Regions from separate parts of the Homo sapiens genome. Here regions 1, 2, 3 and 5 are each linked to region 4. The links are contacts of gene promoters, found by promoter capture Hi-C in blood cells and fetal thymus (Javierre and others, 2016). All regions are on one chromosome and are shown on one strand. The core of a region is centred on a gene start or on the middle of the fragment in contact, and the rest is flanking DNA. Distances in the headings are between cores, read along the strand shown. Region 1 holds the start of CBLL1 (Cbl proto-oncogene like 1). Region 2 overlaps DLD (dihydrolipoamide dehydrogenase). Region 3 holds the start of HBP1 (HMG-box transcription factor 1). Region 4 holds the start of SAMTOR (S-adenosylmethionine sensor upstream of mTORC1). Region 5 overlaps DUS4L-BCAP29 (DUS4L-BCAP29 readthrough).

Region 1 (4,068 bases), core at 177-2,676, 5.2 Mb before region 4:
CATGATTCACAAATAATACCGTACAACTACAAAGATATAACACATCGCTACACATACTTTATTTGCAATTCAGTACCATGAAAACATTTCTCTAAGAGGTCAATGTAATAATCTTTTATTGATATAGGAACTCTGGCACTGAAAGCTTGAATAACCCAAGGTAATGATGTCGTCACCAAGGGAGGACAAGAATAGAACCCAAATCCCTTGACTCCCAAGCTTGTGTTTTCCATTAATTGTGCTCCTTTCTATTCATCCAAGAGCATCAAGTGTAAAAGGCTGGAGAAAGGAGTGGACACAAATGAGCCAAGTCCGCAAGGTGGAGACTGCACTGAAGGTCCTAGGAATCGCCCCTTGGCACTTTCCTTTTGTGTTGGCTGAGGAAGATGAAAGCAGCAACAACCACAAACTCCTGGGACCAAGAACTGGAACTAGGTACTGCTTGTTGTGGTAACTCTCTTCCTCATTTTAGGCCTTTCCTTTTTAACCTCTCCTTCCGGCCAAGCCTTCGCGCTCTCTTCCCCTCCCTCGGTTTCTATCCGCTCCCGTTAGCTCCACTCCGCACATTCCTGCAAGGTGTCCCCGTTAAGAGGAGGCAGCTGCGCCGCACTGGCTCTCCACCCTCCATCCGGCCCTGGCGCCCAGTCGTCAGGTGTTCGAGAGGTTCGTAGCGTCACAAGCGCTCTCCCTAGAAAGTGAGTGGCAGTCAAGCATTATAAACGTGTTTCAACTGTAAAGAGACTTAAGAGATGGGAACCGGGGCATATACCAAGTTAGCTCTGCGTGGGTCTAGGTAGCTCGTCACGACAAAGCAAAATTTAGACAAGCGTTGAGACTTTCCTTCTAGCTCCGAGTTTCACAGCTCCGCCATCCCCTGAGCAACCTCCCACTGGAGGGCGCCTTCCGGAGCGCGCGTGTTTACACTTTTGCTACACCAGGCGGAGGAAACAAGCGCTCGCTGACCCCGGGGGATTCCAAACCGTTACTCCGCCCGCCGGGGTGGGGCCAGCGCAACGGCCGAGCCTGCGCAGCCAGCCGGCTCCGGGGGCCCCGCGCACTACAAGTCCCAGAAGGCAGCTCTCCGCGGGGCGGGCAGTCGCCTTATCTGCTTCTGGCTCATTTTTACCACTGCTCTCCCCTTCCCCGGTCCCCCTGGTGTCCTTTCCACAGTTAAAGGCTACTTTCTCTTGAAGCACATGAGGAGAAGCCTTAGCAACCTCAATACCGAAGTTCTTCGCGCGCTCGCTCTTTCTGCCTCCGCCCGAACTATGCCTGAGTCCCTCACAGGAGTTGGATAGTAGAGGCGAGAGAAGGAAGTCTTTGCAGGCCAAAATTGGGACAACCTGCTTGGACTTCCGCCTCCCGGCCTCCGGAAGGCAGTGCGCACGCGCTCGCTGCGACTCCGGCGCGGTTGACTTCCGCTCCCACTGTGCTCTGCGAGCCGAATCATGGATCACACTGGTAAGGAGGCGGAGGCAGTGGGGGTCCCGGTTCCAAGCCCCCTTGGCCGGCCTGGGGCTGGTCGCACAGCAGGCAAAAGGGATTATGCTCGCCCCACAACACTAGGGTGTGGCAGTGAGAAGAAATCTCACAGATGCCTTCCTGTGCCCGGCAGGGGCCTGCGGTTTCCTGGCCTACCGTCTGGTGTGGTACCTACCTCCTCCGTGCCGGCAACAACCGCTCCTACTCTGGTTCTGCTGAGCTCCGAGCCCGGACCAGTGGGCGATGTAGGCCTTCGGGAAGGGAGAGCCCCGGCTCTGTTTTATTTAGCCCAGCTGCTCTGGCCTACGTTATGGAGACTGGCGGGTAGATTGCGGTCTCCGAGTCGCGGAATCCTCTTTACGCTGGGAGTGGACGGGCGAGAATGGGTTGGAGACTTCCTGCTGTCTCAGTCAGCTTTGGGCGGGTGCTGCAGTGGTCACCCCCTGTCGTCTCTCCGATCCTTTATGGACTAGAGGGGTGAAAGAAGGGAGTCTGATAGAGTTTTTGGAATCAAACTCGGAGCAGTTTTTCTACCTAAACCAAAAGCATGCCCCGCGCTTCGGCTGAGGTCCTTACTCATCATTTGAGGGTATTTACAAAGAGGAGTTTAAAATCAAGGCATTCTCATACTTTTCTCCAAGTAAGAGTGGCTCCACCCTTTGTTATGTATTTTCTGGCTTTTGCTTCTTTGTGGTTCTTGGATATTGAATGAGTGCTCTTGGAGTTATGTGCCCCATACATTTATAGCGACCGTATCACAAATAGAGAAAAAAAGGCTTTTTCTTGAGTATTGAGTTGTCCTCACTCATCAGATATCTACTTGGTTATATAATTAGGTGTGTATGTTTATTTATGTAGGTGTGTATGTTTATTTATGCAAGATACATGCAGATATCTATAGGTCGGGAGATGGAAGATGGAATGGTAAACGAGACGGACCAGGTCCGTGATAGAACTTCTGTTTTATGGAGGAACACAGACAATACGTTCTTTTTTTTTAAATTTATTATTTTTTTAATGTTTGCGGATTATTTTGAAGAAAATAAACGAGTGCTGTGGAGAGATTCATAGGACGAAATTTCAGAGAGGGTTGTTAGGAATGGTCTTTGTGGAAGCTAAGATCTGATGGATGAGAAGAACCCAGCCCTGGGAAAAAAGCAAGAGGAAGAGCATTTCCAGCAAGTGCGAAGGCACTGAGGTAGGAAGATACAGTGAAGTCAGCTGCAGCCTCCTAATAGCCAGAGGGTAGGAGTCCTGAAGTGAGATTGGAAAGGAGGGCAGCAGGCACATCATTCAGGTCATTGAAAGCCGTGGTAAACGTTTGAATTTTAATTTAAGTGAATATGAAGCCATTGAACAGAAGTGGAGGAGGAACACAGTCTCTTAAAAAATACAATAGGCTGTTCTATGAAGAATGGTGTAAGAGAGGGAGGTAAGAATGATGGAAAATAGCTGATTGCAGTAGACGGGAAGGGAAGGTTGGTTTGGTGAAAATGAAGGAGAATGGGCAGCTTCAGTAAATACTCTGGTGGTGTTTGAAGGAATGTGAGAGAAAGGAGAAATGCCTAGGCTTTTGGTTTGAGCAACTAGGTAGGGTCCATTATTGAGCTGAGGAAAACTTGGGGCAGAAAACAATCTTTTTTTGTAGAGGTGAGACGGGAATTTGGGAACAAGTGTTTGGTCTTGGACTGCTAGTGTGAGATAACTACTGAGACACAGGAGAGATGCCAAGTGGAGATGAGAGGAAAGATCTGCACTGAAAATACGTATTTGGAAGTTAGTACCTTTATTTATAGCTGGTATTTTAAAGCATGAGGACAGATGAGACCACTTAAGAAGGGTGTGTTCAGAGGAGAAGCCGGCCTAGAACGAGGCTGTAAAGAATTCCAGTGTTTGGGAATTTATAGAGTTGAAACTGGGATTTTGATGTTAGAATAGCAAACATTCAACTTTAGGAAAGTAATTCTTATTTGAGCCCACTACTGGAATTATGAGTCAAGTTCCTGCCATAGTTTAGAGGCTATTATGTTAGGAAATCATAATAGGGGTGAGTGTAAAGAGTGTTTATTATCTTAATTCTTGAAGTTTAGAGATTGCCTAAGGAAGTAAAACTCATCTTAACATGAAAATACTCACGAATGAGCTGACCACTTAAAAAATTAGTTCCCTCTCAGATGTCCCTTCTGCTTAACACTAGCTTCTTACCTATTTTATTTTTTTTAAATGAATCAATCTCTTTGATGTTTAGTATCAGAAGACAGTATCAAATACTGTGCACTGATTGTGAAATAAAATTATAAACCTTGTAGAAGATTCTGGTTTTCATGAAATTCGTAAACATGAATTTGATAATTGTTTAAATCACAAAGGCTTTGACAAATGAGGAAATGCCACTTAGCTAGATAATTGAAGAATCATGACAGGATAGGCATCTCAAAAGAATAATTGTAATATTAAAGGATTAAGAGGTCCTTGGGGAAACAGATGAAACCCTTGAACATTATGCAAAAATGACCCATTTTATGATCATACCGAAACATTCAAATGTGAAAATGAAGGTGTTCTAATAGAATCTTGCCAGAAAAA
Region 2 (4,444 bases), core at 1,903-4,402, 5.0 Mb before region 4:
GCCGCACCACCCCTGGCCCCGCCTCTGCACTGGCTCAGCCCGGCCCTGGGCTCCGAGGTGGCCGCTCATCCTGCAGCAGGCGAGGGACGGGGCTGGGCCCAGGCTGTGGCGAGTCCTTTCGGGTTGTGTGACGGCCGGCGGTCACACATGCCACACCCCCAAGCCTGGGCCGAGGGCCATCCCGGTCACACATAGGCCTCTACCTTGGAGGAAGTGTAAGCCACCCATGTCCCGTATAGTCTGGCTTTTTATACCATTTGCCTTTTTCTCATCCTAATTCTGATCCCTGAGTGGCCTAAGTTTATGCAGTGGGCAGGTAACCCTGGGGTCACTTCTTGAATGGTTTAGATCCAGTCAGCTCCAACAGATAGCCCTCGGAATTCCCCTAAGGTCTTGTCAGTGTTGGCAGCTTTCAACTGGTGTTCATTGCCATCTCTCACGACTTCCTGGAGGCTTAAATCTTTAATTGCAGCAGGTTATCAGAACAACTCTCCTTTTTAATCTGCTTACCAGATACAGCCAAATTGTGTGTATGTGGCACCGTGGCTGGGTACTATGTTAGTGGAGACCTTAAAAATAATATAGCGATCAAACCCTTTTGTTTCAGAGATGAGGAACCTGAGTTCTCAAAAGTTAATGTAACATTCTGCAAGTCATGCTTTTAGGGAGCGGCGGAGGTGGGACTGAAACTCAGGATTGTCAATCTGCTGCTTTTTGGGTTTGCTGTCCTGACCTCAAATGTTAAGAGTTGCCTTGGAATAGGAAACATCAGTGTAGGTTTTGTCACTGCCGCCCATTTTCCTGCTGTGAGCAGGGGTTATTTGCTTGCTTGCTTTCTGCCTCATTGCCCTTAGGAAATGGTAGCCGTCCACATATAGAGATTAGGGAGATTATGATGCAATTTGTCAAACTGTAGTAGCACCAGAACGTAAGTACATTACTTGGTGCATTTTCCTAAGTTACCTTGTCTAATTTGCTATTCCTAGTTGATGTCTCAGGAACATCTTCATAGATTGTTCTAAGTAAATACGGACTGTATATACACGCTAGCTTAGAGTTAGGAAACAAAAATTACAGGTAAAAAGATTATCATGTATAGATTATTCAAGTATTTAAGTTAGAACTTTCAGAGCTTTATTTATTTATTTATTTATTTATTTATTTTGAGACGGAGTCTCACTCTGACATCCAGGCTAGAGTGCAATGGCACTATCTCAGCTGACTGCAACTTCCGCCTCCCGGGTTCAAGTGATTCTCCTGCCTTGGCCTCCCGAGTAGCTGGGATTACAGGCACCCACCACTACACCCGGCTAATTTTCTTGTATTTTTAGTAGAGTCGGGGCTTCACTATGTTGGCCAGGCTGGTCTCGAACTCCTGACCTCAGGTGATCCGCCCACCTCAGCCTCCCAAAGTGTTGGCATTACAGGCGTGAGCCACCACGGCCGGCTCAGAGCTTTATGACATTAAAATGATCCCTGGCACTAATAATTAGCCATGTTTTCTGAAAATTGAATAAAAATACCATTGAATACGTTTTTAAAATTAAGTTAAATATGAGATGATTTGTTGACTATTGATAATAAAAAGATGGGTGTGGCAAGCTGAGGCTGAAAAATTTAAATGATTAGTTATTGTCAAAGAGGGGATATTGATCTGTAGCTTCTGTGTGGCAATGGAAGAAGATACACTAATAATCCTCGCTTGATACGTTTGCCCAAAATTGTTCTGTTATCATCAACCTTCAGTAGTTCTATGTTTTGAATTCATATCTTACATAATAGGGACATTTTCTTTTTCTAGAGAGGCCATTTCAATCGAATATCTCATGGCCTACAGGGACTTTCTGCAGTGCCTCTGAGAACTTACGCAGATCAGCCGAGTAAGTACTTAAGTAAAACATTTTTTTCATCACATTAGCTGACAGTTCCTTTCTATTTCAATGTAAAAGCAAGTGAATATTGGAATAACTTATGTTAAGTGTCTTATAGTTCATTTGTTCATGTATTTATTCGTTTGAATGTATATTGAGCTAGTGTGTTCCAGGCGGTGAACAAGGTAAAAAAACCCTGCTCTTATGAAACTTGTAATTTGGTGATAAAAGACAAACAATATATAAGTAATGGATAAATATTTTGGGAAGTAACTGAAAATTAAAGCAGGTAATAGGGAGGAAGAGAGATAATTTTAGATACAGTGTCAGGAAAGGCCTTTCTGAGGAGATGATGTCTGGGCAGGGTCCTGAGTGAAGTGGGGGAGTGAGGTTACTTCAGGCAGAGGGAAACAACACTGAGAAAGGCCTGAGGTGGGACTTAGCTTGTGAAGTTTAAGGAGTAATAAGAAGGCTGGTATGACTGGAGCAGAAACCCATGCAATGTAAAGTCGGAGAGGTAGGCAGGAGACAGATCATGGAGTGCCTTGTAAGGCAGGTCTAGTAGTTTGGATTATACTCCAAGTATGATGGGAAACAAAGGTTTTGAGCAGGGCAGCAATTTCATATGTTTACATTTAAAAAGTTAATTTTGTCCGTTGAGTAAGGTTGTATTGGTTATTTTAACACTGTTTAGAATGATGAGATGACTTTCTTGACATCCTGAATGAAAGTCTTCATGGGTTTATCAAAAGCATGTTTTAAAGATTAGCAGGATCTAAAAGGAAGCTATGGGTCATGGAATTTTCTCCTGTGTACTTTTTTTATATTTTTGAAGTTCCCATAAAGGATATGCATTTTATTTTTTTAAGTATTTAAAACAGAAAGTTAATAGGATTATATTGAAGTATTTTGACCTGTCAGTACCAAGGATATTGATTATTTGCAATGTACTGTTTTGACATTTACTGAATTCACCCATATGGATTATAAGTAACATTGGATGTCTTAAAGCTTCAGTTATAGAAATCATTATCTGGGCAAACTGTGACTATCAGTCTCCCTGCATTCTGTGAAGTAATTTAATCCTGTATCCTCAACTGTTATCCAACCATTATCATTTTGGATATTTTATTTCTAGAGGAAGGGTAGGGGGAGGATTCTAGTAACCCATGACTAACAGTGAGTGAGTGATTTATTCTAGCTTTGAACAGGTCAAGAAATCCTTTTAAAAAAATGCTAATATGATGATGAAGGGAAAAGTTGGACCTCTTATACACTTTGTCTCTTGTTAAATAGGAATCTCATTCTTCTCAACTCATATAACAGGAGAAATGTTAGATTTTCATTTCTAAAGGATATTTTTCATGGCTAACTCTATACCTTTGGCATCACTCAGCAGAGATTATTCAGTGCCTTCTATTTGCCAGGCAGACCCTGAGCCAGAACTTAGATTTTAGTGGAATGAGGCTGAGTGTTCCATAATCAGTTTGGTGATCCCTTGACATTGAGTAAATCATAAATCACTTAGTACCCATGTGTGTAAAGTGTGTAAAAGCTTTGAGTGGATGCAGTAACAAGCATTTTACACACATACTTGTATTTTATCTGAGGTACATGCTTACTGTCTTTTCCTCAGGAATGCAAACTTCATCAGGACAGGGACTGTGTGTGACTGTTTTGTTTAGTATCTAAAGTGATACAGTAGGTAATCAGTACATATTTATTGAATGAATGAACACTGGGGCCTGGTCTGTTTTAATTACTGCTCTGTGGCAAAGCATCCAGTATGGTGTCTTGTACAAAGTAAGTAACCAGCTACAACAGCAATAATATTAACTGATGCATTGAGGGCTTCACTCTGTCTCAGGCACAGATTTAATCCTCATGGCCTTTCTACTACCTGTGTGCTGCTGTTCTCCCCATTTTATAGATGGAAGAGTTAGGTTTTTTAACTAGGAAATGACAGAGCTGGGAGAATCCTTTTGACTTCAGAGCCTACACTGTTAATGTTTTATTGAGTTTTCTTCCTTACATGAGTATTGATTGACTCTCCTGAGGAGTTCAAATCTTATTATGATATAGTCTTGGTTACAACATCTGAGAGATGTCTGAATAGCCTTATGAACCAGGTTCATCAGAATTTGCAAAGTTGTGTGTGTTACTGTTGATGTGACGTTTTATTTCATGACAGCACTTAATCAAACTTGTAACACTTAAACTTACAGCACTTATATCACTCACATTCACTACATTCATTCATTCTTTTATTATTTCGACAAATACTAATATCTACTATGTGTTAGTCATTGGGCTAACTACTGGAGTACCGCAGTGAGCAAGACGGACAAGACCCAGCTTTTATAGAGCTTACAATTCAGTTGAGGGAGACAAACATCCAACATATAATTGTGACAGGGGTCCATAGACTTAAGCATAGGGAGTAATGACATCTATATATGGATTGGGAATGGTCACATAATTCTTTCCTAAGGAATTATGTTGATAGCTAAAAAGGTTGAGAGTAACTCTCGTTACAGGTTGGACCTTTTACTGTAATTCTTTTTTTTATTTAG
Region 3 (4,309 bases), core at 1,715-4,214, 5.8 Mb before region 4:
TGAAATAGAATTGTTGCCTTCTCTAAATACATTTTCATTTATACCAAATTAGACTTGACAAAAACTTTTTGGGAAAAATTGGGATAAAAAAATGAGTACTCCTCTCTATGTCCTGAGGATACCCAGGTTTATTTCTCCAGACTTGGACTTCCTAAATGCCAGATGAATATATTCAGCTGCCCAAGGACCTCTGGACTCAAATTTCTTCCTGCACAGCATGCTTATCACCCGAGGTTGAACCTATCCTTTCCCTTCCTCCCAGTCCCCAAATCTGCTATCCTCTCCAGCATTCCCTCAGTCAATAACATCAACATAACCACCCTTCCCCAACATACTGCAATTACCCAAGCTGGAGACACAATCATTTTGATTCTTCCCTTTTACGTTGATTTTTCTTCCTAATGTGGTTATAGTGTTAAGACATTAGCTTATCAGCCACTGAAGAAAGGTCTTGCTTTCTGGTCATCGGAGCAAAATCTAAACTTCAGTTGCATCAAGAACTACAGGAACAGGAGACAGATGACTCACTTCTACAATGGCCATCATTAGCTCCTGTGGATTTCATTACAACTTGACTGAATTACCTGAGTACTTTGAACTAATTAGAAAATTAACTCATTTGAAAGGATAGTAAGGTATATGGAAGGATATTTGTTGGAGTTTAAACATTCAAGATGCTGTCTGAAAACTTTGAGAAGTACTTAGACCATACATGTGTTCAATTTCTCCATTTAGTACTTGTTCATGTGATTTCATTTGTTTACCTTTTGACAATTCAAAGTGATTATTTTCAATATCAGGCAATGCATGTACTTGAACTTCTCTGTAGTTAAGCAAAGCAGTCATTGGTGTGTCAAATATGGTGGAATCAGGGAAACACATTATTTCACTCCTAAATAGGATTTACCGGTTTTTTGTTTTTCTTCTGTTCGTTTTTTACTATCTCTAACAAATTAGAACTTGATATTTAAGATAACAGAGGTAACTTTACAAACCGCTGGAAAGACATTTTGATTTGACAATTTCTTGACATTTTTTTGCATACATTTTATGTGTGTATATGTGTGTATAGATATGGTGACTGTACCAATCAAGAAGAGGTGTTATTTAAAGTAACTGATTTTTTAACTTCAATTTTATCATGGAAACATCTGAAAGATAGTTAAAAACTGTAGTTATATCTGTTTTAGTCTGAGAGTATAATTAGCACATGTAAAAATTTCCAAGGAGATCTTACTAGTTTTGTACTTTGATCTTTGTTCTGGCTTATAAGTTGGCTAGTTTTATTGGTCACTCAATTAATGATGATGTCTCTGGTAAATACACATAAGCTACTAATGTGGTCATTTAGCCCCCCACGGAAGTCAGAAGATTGGACTAAGTGTCCACTTAAAGGTGTAGCGAATTCTAATACTAGTATTTAATCAGTTGTGACTAAACTATCTAAATTTAACTCATATTAAAGACTTGGATAAAAATGAGAAAAAGTGTGCAAAAAATGTTTTCTATCTTTTTATTCTCAATAATTGGCACAGTGGTCAAAAAATGGAACTAAACGTTTCTGAATGAATGGAAAAGGCTTTATGGAGCTATTAAAGGATAAATTATTATTTGTAACATATTGTACAATATCTGGATCTAAAGTTGAATTTTTTTTCCCCATTTCCGGTGTCCCCCGATAAAAAAAATCACCACTAAGGCATTTGGTAAAAACTTTAAAATAGTTTAACTTTTAAAAACAAGGTTTAGCTGAAAGCAGATCTCACAGTTTGTGTACTGGAGAGGGGTAAAGCAGTATGTCAATCTCTTGCCAGCTCTTTTTTTTTTTTTTTTTTAAGAGAAAAGTTTTTTAGTTTTCTAGGAGGAGTTAGACATAAATATCTCAAAACAATTTTAAATAATTAGGTGAACTTCACAGATTTTTCTTTTTTGTCAAGAAATTACATGTTGGAGTAGAGTTTATATTTTCTATTCTAGTACACGATGACCCTCCATTGTAAAAAAAAAAAAAAAAAAAAAAAGCATACACAAAGTAGCAGAGACATTCATTTCTTTGAGTCACTAATAATTTCTGAAAGATGATAAATTCAAATCCTGTCCTTTTTCCTCAGGGAAAAAATTAAGCATTCTGTTGGCTCTCCTCTGAATTATTTTAATAAAAAATAGAATGCTTTATTACTATTTGTGAACATAGAAAGTAAGTATTTGATTACACGGGAGGACTACTTTATAATTTCACTTCACGGATTCAAATGGGGAATTCTCAAGAATTTTAAACTCGATTTCAACATGTGGGGGCTTATTTTGGATTTCTTGATTTGTTACGCGGCTTTCAGGTATATTTAAAAATCCAAGAAATGCAGGAGGTTTTAAAGAAATAACTAGCTGTGTGATTTCTGGCTCTGTCCAAAGGTTTGCTTTTACAGATTTCTTACTAATGTAGGTTTTCCTCATCTTAATTCTAAGCATATATTTAGTGATCTAAAGTTAGAAAATCTAAAGCACAATTTAAATGATTAAACACTAAAGGTTCAAAGGGGGGAAAAAGCTTAATCATGCCTTTGTAATGTGAATGGTAAAGACACCAATTATTGACTAGATGCAGCCGACTGTGAATGGACAGCCATGTTTAAAGAGAAGTTAACTATAAAGCAGGGAAGCGTCTCTGGTGAGTCAGAGAATTCGTAACTTGAGGAACTCCTAGTGGAAATGAAGTGGAAAGACAGTTTCTTTCATCAATGAGAAAACGTCTAGAAGGAAAAGAGGGTTAATAAAACTCACCAGAGAAACTTACTGATAATGATTCACAAATTAAATCAGTTTACGTCATACATTACACCCTTTGTATTACGTTAACCAACGAGCATACTAATCAGTATGGAAAATGCCGCTTTAACTTGCCTCAATTTCGTAATCGCCCGCCCCCGCCCCCGCTTTGTAAATTCTCTAGACTCCAGCTTCTCGCTTGCTCACAGTCCATCCCCCAGCCTCACTCTTCCTGGCACTTAGGTGGCGGCTCAACAAACTTAGGTGAACTGAACAGAGCTGACAAGGCAATCTCAAGTTGCTGTCCTGGGAGTGGTGAGGCAAGGCACAAGAGAAAGGACTTCTAGTTCTTCCCACTGCCAGTGCAGCCCCCAGCATCACTTTCGACCCCTTCGTGCCTGGGGCCGTGATTTGTGGGTGATCAAGTCCCTCGCTAGCCTGCAGTACTTCCGCTGGTGCAGTCATCTCCTTCCCCTCGCACTAAAACAATACCCTGGCCTCCTGCCAAACTCTTGAGCAGCGAGCAACTCTGGCTGTTTATGGCCCGGATTGGGTGCTGCAAGAGGCTTGGGCCGCTCTAAGTGTTAGCAGAGGCCCGGAGGAAAAGAAGAGGCCCAAGCTTTAAAACACTCCCTTCCTCCGCCCCCTCCCTTTTGTCCCAGACACCAAAACAAACGAGCTGATACACGTGTCCCTATGACTCTTGTTTACTATCAAGACTGCGCTGTGCGAGCGCCTCTGGGATACGTAGTCCAGCTCTTCCCCGGCCAGCAGTCTCCCACAGCCAAGGACCAAGGCTTGAGACTACGAACCCACAATCCATTTCGGGGACAAAGTTTGGCTTGGGTCCCCGGACTCTCGGCAATAGTCCAATCCGAAGCACTTACTCTTGTGATTGACATGCCATCTTCTCCAGTAAACACAACACAAAAGTCAATACATGCCCGCCCCCCGAGACGGACCACGGTACCACCCAATGGGAAAGGGGAAGAACCGAATGGCAGTTCTGCAGTCCAATAAGAGGGCGAAAGAGCTGGGCGGGGCTCAACCCCCAGGGGGTTGAGGGGAGGGGGAAGACGAAGCTTGAAAGACTTGGTAATGGCGACGGGTTTGGTAAGTAGGAAAGTTTCGGTTGAGGAGTAAGAGCTGCCGCGGGAGCAGTAACCCGCGCGGGGGAGGCCGACGTCGGTCGGAGAGGGGGTACGAGAGCTGCTGGTGGTGTTGTCGTGGCCGGAGCGGCCCGCGCCTGGGCTGCCGGCACTTCGCGGCAGGTTTGTTGTCTTTCAGTTAGGGAAGAGGTGGGGGTGGGGAAGGGAGGGGCAGGAGCGCGGGGGATTGGGCAGACTGGAGGGCTCGGGTCCTCGTTCCTTCTTCTCGGAGGGTTGCCCTTGGGGTGGGGGCAGTTAACCGTTCGATTGGTGCCCGCGGCGAGCCCACCGGAGCAGCGTCTCCCGCGAGCTCACCTGGGCTTCGGGGCGGCGGCGCTAGGGGGTCTCGGGCGGGGGCCGGGAGGAGGCAGGGGGAGGGCGAAGTTCCGGGCCAG
Region 4 (4,102 bases), core at 51-2,550:
AAGGCTGCTGACTTTTCAGTTTGCAATTAAGCTAAAATGAGAACCAGTGGAAAGCTTTCCTCATTTCGATACTCAGGAGAAGTCTCTCTCCCAAGCCTATGAAAACAGAATTTTCACTGTCAAAATCTTATAAAACAGCTGTGTACAAAAGCCTATATTTAAAGATATCAAGGATAACTGTAGACTCCAACTATAAACACTCTTCAGGCACAGGCAAAAGCCACTAAGGCTTCTTCCCCTATGAGCTTCCACAGAGGGGGTTCTCACCGGAACCCCATCCATGGAAGCCGAGGGTGGGCTTTATCGGCAGGTGTCTTTAGGAGGCTTCCAATACAAACGGTATTTTCAGAACCTGCCCAGATCTCTTCCTCATCGCCTAAATAAACAGTTAAGACCAAGTATTTAAGAAATGGGAGTGGGGGCCACGAGTGTAGCCCGCCCCCTTTTAACAATGTGAAGTCCAGTCAGCTAAAAGGCCTGCTGGCTTCCCAGCCCTGGAAGCCAATGCGAGGAAGGCTCGGCATGGTTGTAGGAATGAAGTACTAGGAAGGGGGTCTGATAAGGAAGCAAATGGTACAGCCGGTAGGTCAAGCGTAAAGGAGGGACAACTCAGGTTTCTTTTCGTCTTTTACAAATGGATTTTACCTGTCTTGTTTTACCTCGGCGTCTCTTGCAAAAAGCGACCCCCACCTCCTCTGTGAGCGTGTATGTGTTTGTGTGTGCCGAGACAACAACCTCAGCACCCCGGCTGGGGACAGGGGCTTGGAGGGGGTGGGGACTCAATTCCTTTACAGGCCTAGAACTCTCCCGAAGGGCCCTCAAAGAAAAGGGGGCGGGGAGGAGCGCGTCTGATGCCGACTAGGGGGCTCAGACCAGGCCCGGGAGAGCAGCAGCGGCTGGGGGGACGTGCAGATCCTTTACATTTTAATGGTGGCCTCTTTGGAGGAGGGAAGAGGTGACAAGCGGTTGGGGGTGATGAGGCCTCCCCTTCCTCCCTCACTCAGCGCGCTGTTTACCTTCTCGGTACTTCTTGCGGAGCCGCCGGTGGACGCTCTTCACCACACCGGAGAGCTTCTCCTGCTCCAGTTTCCGCTCCTGCTCCCGGGGCGGCGGAGTGTTCGGGGACCCGGCCCTCTGCGCACGAGCAGTATTTCGGCCGCCGGCCCCTGGCTCCATATCGCAGCCGCCGCCGCCGCCGCCGCCCCTCAGGCCCCCGCAGACGCTCCCCAGATGGAGGAGGTGGGGTAGGAGGAGGGAGCTGCGGAGGCAGCAGCCAGAGGAGGCAGAGGAACCGGAGCGACAGCCTTGGAGGTGGACCCTCACCCAAAAGTGCAAACTGATTGGTGGATTTTGAGGGCTGGGCGGAAACGGAAAAGGCTAAGGGCCAATGGGCAGAAAGCGCCGGCGGCGAACCCGGTTGTTTGGGAAGGCGAGCAGCTGGAGGAGGCGGAGCTTGCGGGGATAGGGAGGCTGAGGCAGTGGGAGCTCCAGGCCTGGGTGCTCATCTCTTCCCCACCCTCCCCGGATTCTGTGCGCAGGCGCTGTGGCTCGGCCTCGGGAGACGAGCTGTGAGCAACGCGCTTGCGCGTCTCAGTTTGCTTAGTTTGGGCTTTTTTACAGCTCGGCTTTCTGATGTCTTCCATCATTTTCATCCCCTACACTTTATAATCTGTTGCGATGCGGCCAGGGTGCTCTGCTTGAACCTCCGCTGCACCTTGTCACATGTAGGTTCCCTTTAGTTACTTGCGCTTTGAGATGACGTTACACTTCAGGGACCTCAAGCACACAAGCATTCTAAGGCTCAAGGAGAGGTCTGGCTACCAAATGCTAATTTAATTCTCAGGTCGACAATGGTTTATGCCTGCAGTACTACTGCTGGGCAAAGGACATAGAAAATGCGAAAAGGAGAGGGCCAAGAAAAGCAACAGGAGATGCAGGAGGACAATAAGGAACGATGGAAAACTCACAGCAGATGCCCTCAAGAACTTTTGTAGTGACCACGGTGTTAATAAGCAGCCTTCCCTGATCTTATTCGCATCAGCACTCTGAGCTTTTATGGTCAGCTCAGGTGACCTCCTGTCCTTTAATTTGGAGAGTTAGTCTATGCGGAGTGTATCTAAGTGGGTTTGGTAACCTGTTCACCCTCCTCCACTTCTTTTCCATCTCTTGGGGAACGCGATTGTTGACTTCTGTCCCAGAAAGGTGGAACACTGCTCTCTGGAGAGAGGTAGACTGCATTGGCTCCTGAAGTGGTACTGAGGCTGCTGGAGTGTCAGAGATTGAATAGACTGAGAGCCCCTAATGAGTTGTGTTGGATTGTGTACCACTTCCCCATTGCAGGTGTTGGTTACGTGACAGTCTATGGAAATGATTGCAATGGTAACATTTTGATAATGATTTTCTAACTACGAATAAAGCTTGCATTATGTAACTGTTTTATATGCTACCTTCTTTATATTGAATACGCTGAAGAGCAAAGAATTATACACACTGTCTAGGACACAGGAGAAGCGGGAGGTGAAGGGAGATTGATGGAATTTAAAGGCGGAAGATGTGTCCCTACAGCACAGTGAAGAGACAGATCAAACACAAAGACAAGGACATATAAACTTCAAAAGAACTCCTTATAATTATGAAGAGAAGTTAAGCGGAAGTGCCTAATAAATTGAAAATATGGTGGTCTTATTTGGGGGAATTTCATTTGGGAAGAAAGGGGAGCTTGAATTACATGTCTCTTTTGGCTCTTTCCATATTTTAATACATATGGAAGGCAAATAATGGTGCAGATATTCGAAAGATACAATGATAGTAAAAAGAGCATTAAATTTCACTTGTGCTGAACTGTAGTTTTATTTTTTAAAAAAGAACTTTTCAGCATAATACTAGCAAATGAACTTTTAAGGCCTCTTAACTGAAGATGTTCACTGAAGGAAATTTGGAAAATACAGAAAAGAGTAAAGAAAATAAGACATCTGGACTGAGAGATAACAACTTAACATTTTTTCTTTGTTTGTATATACTAATTTCAAATAGGATATTTCTTGATGCCTATGTGGCAATCTATTGTATGAATAGCCTACTATTTCATTAACCAATTCCCAGTTATTGTAGATTTATGTTTTTTCCAGCTTTTTTGTATTACAGATAATGTCATGACAAACACATTTGCACACAAGTATTTGTCCATTTCTTTAATTATACATTCCATCAGGCTAAATTCCTAAAAGTTCAATTTCTGAAGCAAAGGGTCAAACATGTTAGGGTTTTGATGTATATTATGAAATTGCCTTTTCTGAAAGATAGTAGCAGTTTATGCCATGTCCACTAGTACCTATGGGTGTTTATTTCATTGCACCCTTACCAAAGGTAGGTATTACAATTTACAAAGTCATTAATGAGATTTTAAAAACATGTCTATTTTTTAAATAAATATGTGGAATTTCCTGCTGTTTCGTAACTAGCTATTCTTATTGGTATAATATTTAACTTAAAATACCAACGTAAGAATAAATAAAAGGAACTTATTTAAGACTATCTAGTTGTTGTTGTTCAAGCAGATTGAAGAGTCCTACCTTTTAAAATTACTTTTTGACTTCACACTTTCTTGAAAAGCAACCGAAGAAATAACAATTGGACAGCCAGATTTTATTTTAAAGAAAATGAAATCTTTTTATTTTCTTTAAATTTTTTATTTAAAAAATGTTTTATTTAAAATTTTCATTTAAAAAATTTTAAATTTTTTATTATAAAATAAAGATTTTATTTTAAAAATAAAAATAAGATTTATTTTATTTTATTTTATTTTATTTTATTTTATTTTATTTTGAGATGGAGTTTCACTCTTGTTGCCCAGGCTGGAGTGCAGTGGCGCATTCTCGGCTCACTGCAACCTCCGCCTCCTAGGTTCAAACGATTCTCCTGCCTCAGCCTCCCGAGTAGGTGGGATTACAGGCATGCGCCACCATGCCCGGCTAATTCTGTATTTATAGTAGAGACGGGGTTTCTCCATATTGGTCAGGCCAGTCTCAAACTCCCGACCTCAGGTGATCCACCCACCTTGGCCTCCCAAAGTGCTGGGATTACAGGCGTGAGCCACGGCGCC
Region 5 (4,057 bases), core at 890-3,389, 5.4 Mb before region 4:
ATCTGTATTAATGAAGAGTGACTGCATGCAAACGACAATATGTCAGGAAAGAAAAAAAGATCCCATAGAAATGTTTCATTCTGGACAGCTGGTAAAAGTCTGTGCCCCAATGGTTCGATATTCAAAGTAAGTGTTGCAAAATGATTAATGAACTAAGATGAAATTTCCCTTTTATGCTCTGACTTTTTAAAAGTACTGTAAGACCACCCACCATATGGGAACTTCAAACTCTTAGCTTTGGAATCATGACTTAGAATTGAGTCATGATGCTACTACTTGCCTAGTATATATGTGATCCTGAGTAAACAATTAACTTCTCTGAGCTGCACTTTTTATATCTATAAAAATGGTGGTGGTTGTAACTCCTACCTATAAGTATATAATGGATATTAAATAGATATAAGTATTGATGTATAGATTTTTATGTGAACTTAAGTCTTGGGACAAATAGGAGTGCAATTATGGGTCCTAAGGTAGTTGTGTGTTCAGTTTTCGAAGAAATATTTCTTCGTATCTTTTGCTCATCTTCTAATTGGATTGTTTGCTCTTTTACTATTGAGTTTTTTTAGAAGTTTGTTATAAAATATACGTAACATAAAATTTACCTCTCGATCATTTTTAAGTATACAGTTCAGCAGTGTTAATTACATTCACATTGTTGTGCATCTGATCTCTAAAACTCTTTTCATCTTAGAAGATGGAAATTCTATCACATTAAACTGTGACTCCCCATTCCACTGTTCCTCACAGCAGCCCCTGGCAACCATTATTCTACTTTCTCCCTCTATGAACTTCACTACTCTAGGTACCTCATATAAGTCTTATACGTATTTGTTCAGAACTGGATTTATTTTGCTAATATTTTATGCAGCATAACATCCTCAAGGTTCATTCATGTTGTAGCATATATCAGACTTGTTCCTTTTTAAGGCTGAATAATATTCCATTTTATGTATATTTTGTTCATTCATCTGTTGATATCCATTCATATATTGATAGAACACAAGATAACTTCCACCTTTTGGCTACTGCAAATAATACTGTCATGAACTATGGGTGTACAAATACCCATATACAAATACCCATGGTTCGTAACAGGTCTCTGAGACCCTGCTTTCAATTCTTTTTGACTATGTACCCAGATGTAGAATTGCTGGATCATATGGTGATTCTATGTTTAATTTTTTGAGCAACTACTGTACTGCTTTCCATAGCAGCTGCACCATGTTACCTTACCACCAGCAGTGAACAAGAGTTTTAATTTCTCCACATCCTCATCAACACTTGTTATGTTCTGGGAGTTTTTATTTTATTATTATAATCATCCTAATGGGTGTGAAGTGGTATCTCATTGCAGTTTTAATTTGCATTTCCCTAATGATTAATGATGCTGAACATCTTTTTGTGTGTTTATTGGCCATTTGTATGTTGTCTTTGTAGAAGTATCTATTCAAGTGCTTTTGTCCATTTGTTTGTTTTCTTGTTTTCTATTATACTCTAGATATATATTCTGCTTTGTCAGATGTGTGATTTGCACGTATTTTCTCCCTGTATATGGCTTGTCTTTCATGCTCCTAACAGGATCTTTTGCAGAACAAAAGTTTCATTTTAATGAAGTCTAACATCAATTTTTCCTTTTGTAAATTGTGCTTTCGATGTCAAGTATAAGAAACCTTTATGTAGCTCCAGATCCTGAATATTTTCTCCTAAGTTTTTTTCCCTAAAAGTTTTATAGTTTTATGTTTTGCATTTAAGTCCATGATCAATTTTGCATTAACTTTTATGTAAGTGTGAGGCTTAGGTTAGGTTGCCTATGGATGTCCAATTACTCCAGCATCATTTTTGAAAGGCTATCAGCCAGGCACAGTGGCTCACGCCATCAAATCCTAATCCCAGCACTTTGGGAGGCCGAGGTGGGCAGATCATTTGAGGTCAGGAGTTCGAGACCAGCCTGGCCAACATGGTGAAACCCCATCTCTACTAAAAATACAAAAATTAGTCAGCGTGGTGGCGCATGCCAATAGTCCCAGCTGCTGGGAGGCTGAGGCAGGAAAATCGCTTGAACCTGGGAGGTGAAGGTTGCAGTGAGCCAAGATCGCACCACTGCACTCCAGCCTGGGCAACAAGAGTAAAACTCCGTCTCAAAAATAATAATAAAAAAAGAAAGGCTATCTCTCCGCTAATTCTTTGCTTCTTTGTGAGAAATCAGCATTTTCTGTTTTGTTCCATTGATCTTGTATCTTTTTCCCCACCAATACCACACAGTTTTACTATATAGCTCTATAATATGTCTTGAAATCAGGTAGACTGGTTCTTCCCAATTTATTTACTTTTTCAAAATTGTTTTAGCTATTCTAGTTCCCTTGCTTTACAAATAAATTTTAGAATGACCTTGTCTATCTCTGCAAAAAACCCTGCTGGAATTTTCATAAGAACTGTGTGAAACCTATACCTCAACTTGGGAAGAACTGACTTTCTTACTAGGTTGAGTCTCCCAATCCATGAACACAGTATATCTTTCCATTGATTGAGATTTTCTTTGATTTCTATCATCAGTATTGTGTAGTTTTCAGCATACAAGTTCTGCACATGTTTTGTAAGACACCCAGGTTTTGAGCATGTTTGTAAATAGAATTTTTAATTTTTGGTGTTCACATGTTTATTGCTAGCACATAGAAATAGATTTTTGTATGTTGATCTTATATCCTGAAAACTTGCTAAACTCACTTGTTGGTTCTAGTTTTTTTGTAAATTCCTTCAGAGTCTATATGAACAACCATGTCATCTACAAATAAGGACAGTTGGATTTCTTCCTTTTGATCATATGCCTTTTGTTTCTTTATCATGCCTTATTGCACTGACTAGAAGTTTCAGCGCCGTGTTGAATAAGGGTGATAAGAGCAGACTTCCTTACCTTGTTCCTAAGGCAAAAGTGTTCTGTAGGAATTTTGTGGATATACTTTATCAAACTGAGGCAGGTTCCCTCTACTTCTGGTTTTCCAAGAGTTAGCTTTTTTTTTTTTTAACTATGTATGAGTGTATTTTGTCAAATGCCTTTTCTGCATCTATATGATCATGTGATTTTTATTATTTAGCCTGTTAATATGATGGATTACATTAATTGATTTTGACTATTGCACCTTCTGTTTTAACCGGCTTTTTCTGACAACACTCCAGCAGGGAATGATGTAGGGGAGTGGTGCCACCTCATTGCTATCTGATAGAAATCCAAGTTCTCCACTTGGCCTCCTTCGACATCTGGTGGGTGAGGAGCTCCTCATTACTGCGGGGCAGTGATGAGAGTTCCAGTTCCCCATAGTGAGGGTAGCCTCATATGTGCTGGGCAATAATGAAAGTCCTGGCTCTCCACTATGCCTCCTCTGACACCACACCAAGCAGGGAGGGAGAAGAGTGCTTCATTACTGCTGGCAGGCATGGAAGTCCAGGCTCCCCTTGTGGCCTCCACTGATACCACTGGGCTGGGAGTGACCTCAGTGGCCACCAGAGATGAAAGTTTCAGATCCTTACCTGGCCTTGGTATCAATAGAATGTTGGAGCACCTTGTTACAGCCTTTGGAGGGTAGAAGTCTAGGATTCCCACTTGGCCTTTGCTAATGGAGATAAAGCCATAGCTTTTTCTACAGTATTTGGCTGGAGTAGAACTGTCTAAAAGTTTTCTGTCTTACTAGGTCAGACAGAACATTTTCCTGGTCCTTTGGTTAGAGAAGGCTTTTGTTGGGGCTGGTTTTGTCTGCATCCATTGTTGTTTCCAGGTGGCCAGCTTCTTCAAGTCTAGGATATTTGAGACAAAAATAAAACCCAGAGAACTCACCACCCTGTCATTCCTCAGGTCCTGAGGTCACTAGCCTATCTGGACATCTTTTCTTCACCTTTCAAAATTTTCTTGTGTTTGTTTTATATATAATATCCAAGGTTTTTAGTAATACTTAACAGGAATAATAGGGAAAAGTAAATCTCCTCCATCTCCCCATAGGTAGAACTTTCTCTGATAAATATTTAACAATGCACTAAAATATGTTTGTGGTGTTTCTAAATG

What was found. Contacts are between HindIII fragments. The CHiCAGO score rates a contact against its expected background, and 5 or more counts as called.
Region 1: the fragment with the promoter of CBLL1 here is called in contact with the fragment with the promoter of SAMTOR in region 4 in 3 of 17 cell types (total CD8 T cells, fetal thymus and naive CD8 T cells); the score reaches 11.0 in total CD8 T cells.
Region 2: a fragment that was not itself captured here is called in contact with the fragment with the promoter of SAMTOR in region 4 in 3 of 17 cell types (fetal thymus, total CD4 T cells and activated CD4 T cells); the score reaches 7.2 in fetal thymus.
Region 3: a fragment that was not itself captured here is called in contact with the fragment with the promoter of SAMTOR in region 4 in 2 of 17 cell types (fetal thymus and naive CD8 T cells); the score reaches 5.6 in fetal thymus.
Region 5: a fragment that was not itself captured here is called in contact with the fragment with the promoter of SAMTOR in region 4 in 1 of 17 cell types (fetal thymus); the score reaches 5.2 in fetal thymus.

What each region holds. Positions count from the first base shown.
Region 1 is chr7:107,742,716-107,746,783 of GRCh38, forward strand. CBLL1 (Cbl proto-oncogene like 1) reads left to right here and starts at 1,427. Exons shown (of 6, transcript NM_024814.4): 1 at 1,427-1,461. The coding sequence starts at 1,449. It overlaps CBLL1-AS1 (CBLL1 antisense RNA 1), which reads right to left and starts at 1,866. Exons shown (of 2, transcript NR_144537.1): 1 at 1,658-1,866; 2 at 38-688. RefSeq lists enhancers at 16-535, 536-1,054, 1,152-1,371, 1,722-1,901 and a silencer at 912-1,111. The HindIII fragment of the contact is 5,122 bases long and covers 218-4,068 here.
Region 2 is chr7:107,891,399-107,895,842 of GRCh38, forward strand. DLD (dihydrolipoamide dehydrogenase) reads left to right here. Exons shown (of 14, transcript NM_000108.5): 2 at 1,802-1,880. Among named protein-coding and RNA genes, the nearest start is that of DLD, 2.4 kb to the left of the region's middle. RefSeq lists an enhancer at 1-205 and a silencer at 16-125. The HindIII fragment of the contact is 544 bases long and covers 2,881-3,424 here.
Region 3 is chr7:107,165,149-107,169,457 of GRCh38, forward strand. It overlaps HBP1 (HMG-box transcription factor 1), which reads left to right and starts at 3,855. Exons shown (of 11, transcript NM_012257.4): 1 at 3,855-4,037. RefSeq lists silencers at 3,383-3,956, 3,975-4,074 and an enhancer at 3,505-3,664. The HindIII fragment of the contact is 837 bases long and covers 2,547-3,383 here.
Region 4 is chr7:112,938,575-112,942,676 of GRCh38, forward strand. SAMTOR (S-adenosylmethionine sensor upstream of mTORC1) reads right to left here and starts at 1,301. Exons shown (of 5, transcript NM_152556.3): 1 at 1,017-1,301. The coding sequence starts at 1,176. RefSeq lists a silencer at 1,130-1,229 and enhancers at 1,259-1,775, 1,430-1,769. The HindIII fragment of the contact is 2,363 bases long and covers 53-2,415 here.
Region 5 is chr7:107,567,061-107,571,117 of GRCh38, forward strand. DUS4L-BCAP29 (DUS4L-BCAP29 readthrough) reads left to right here. Exons shown (of 13, transcript NR_163941.2): 3 at 1-126. It overlaps DUS4L (dihydrouridine synthase 4 like), which reads left to right. Exons shown (of 8, transcript NM_181581.3): 3 at 1-126. The coding sequence starts at 11. Among named protein-coding and RNA genes, the nearest start is that of DUS4L-BCAP29, 5.1 kb to the left of the region's middle. The HindIII fragment of the contact is 4,339 bases long and covers 1-4,057 here.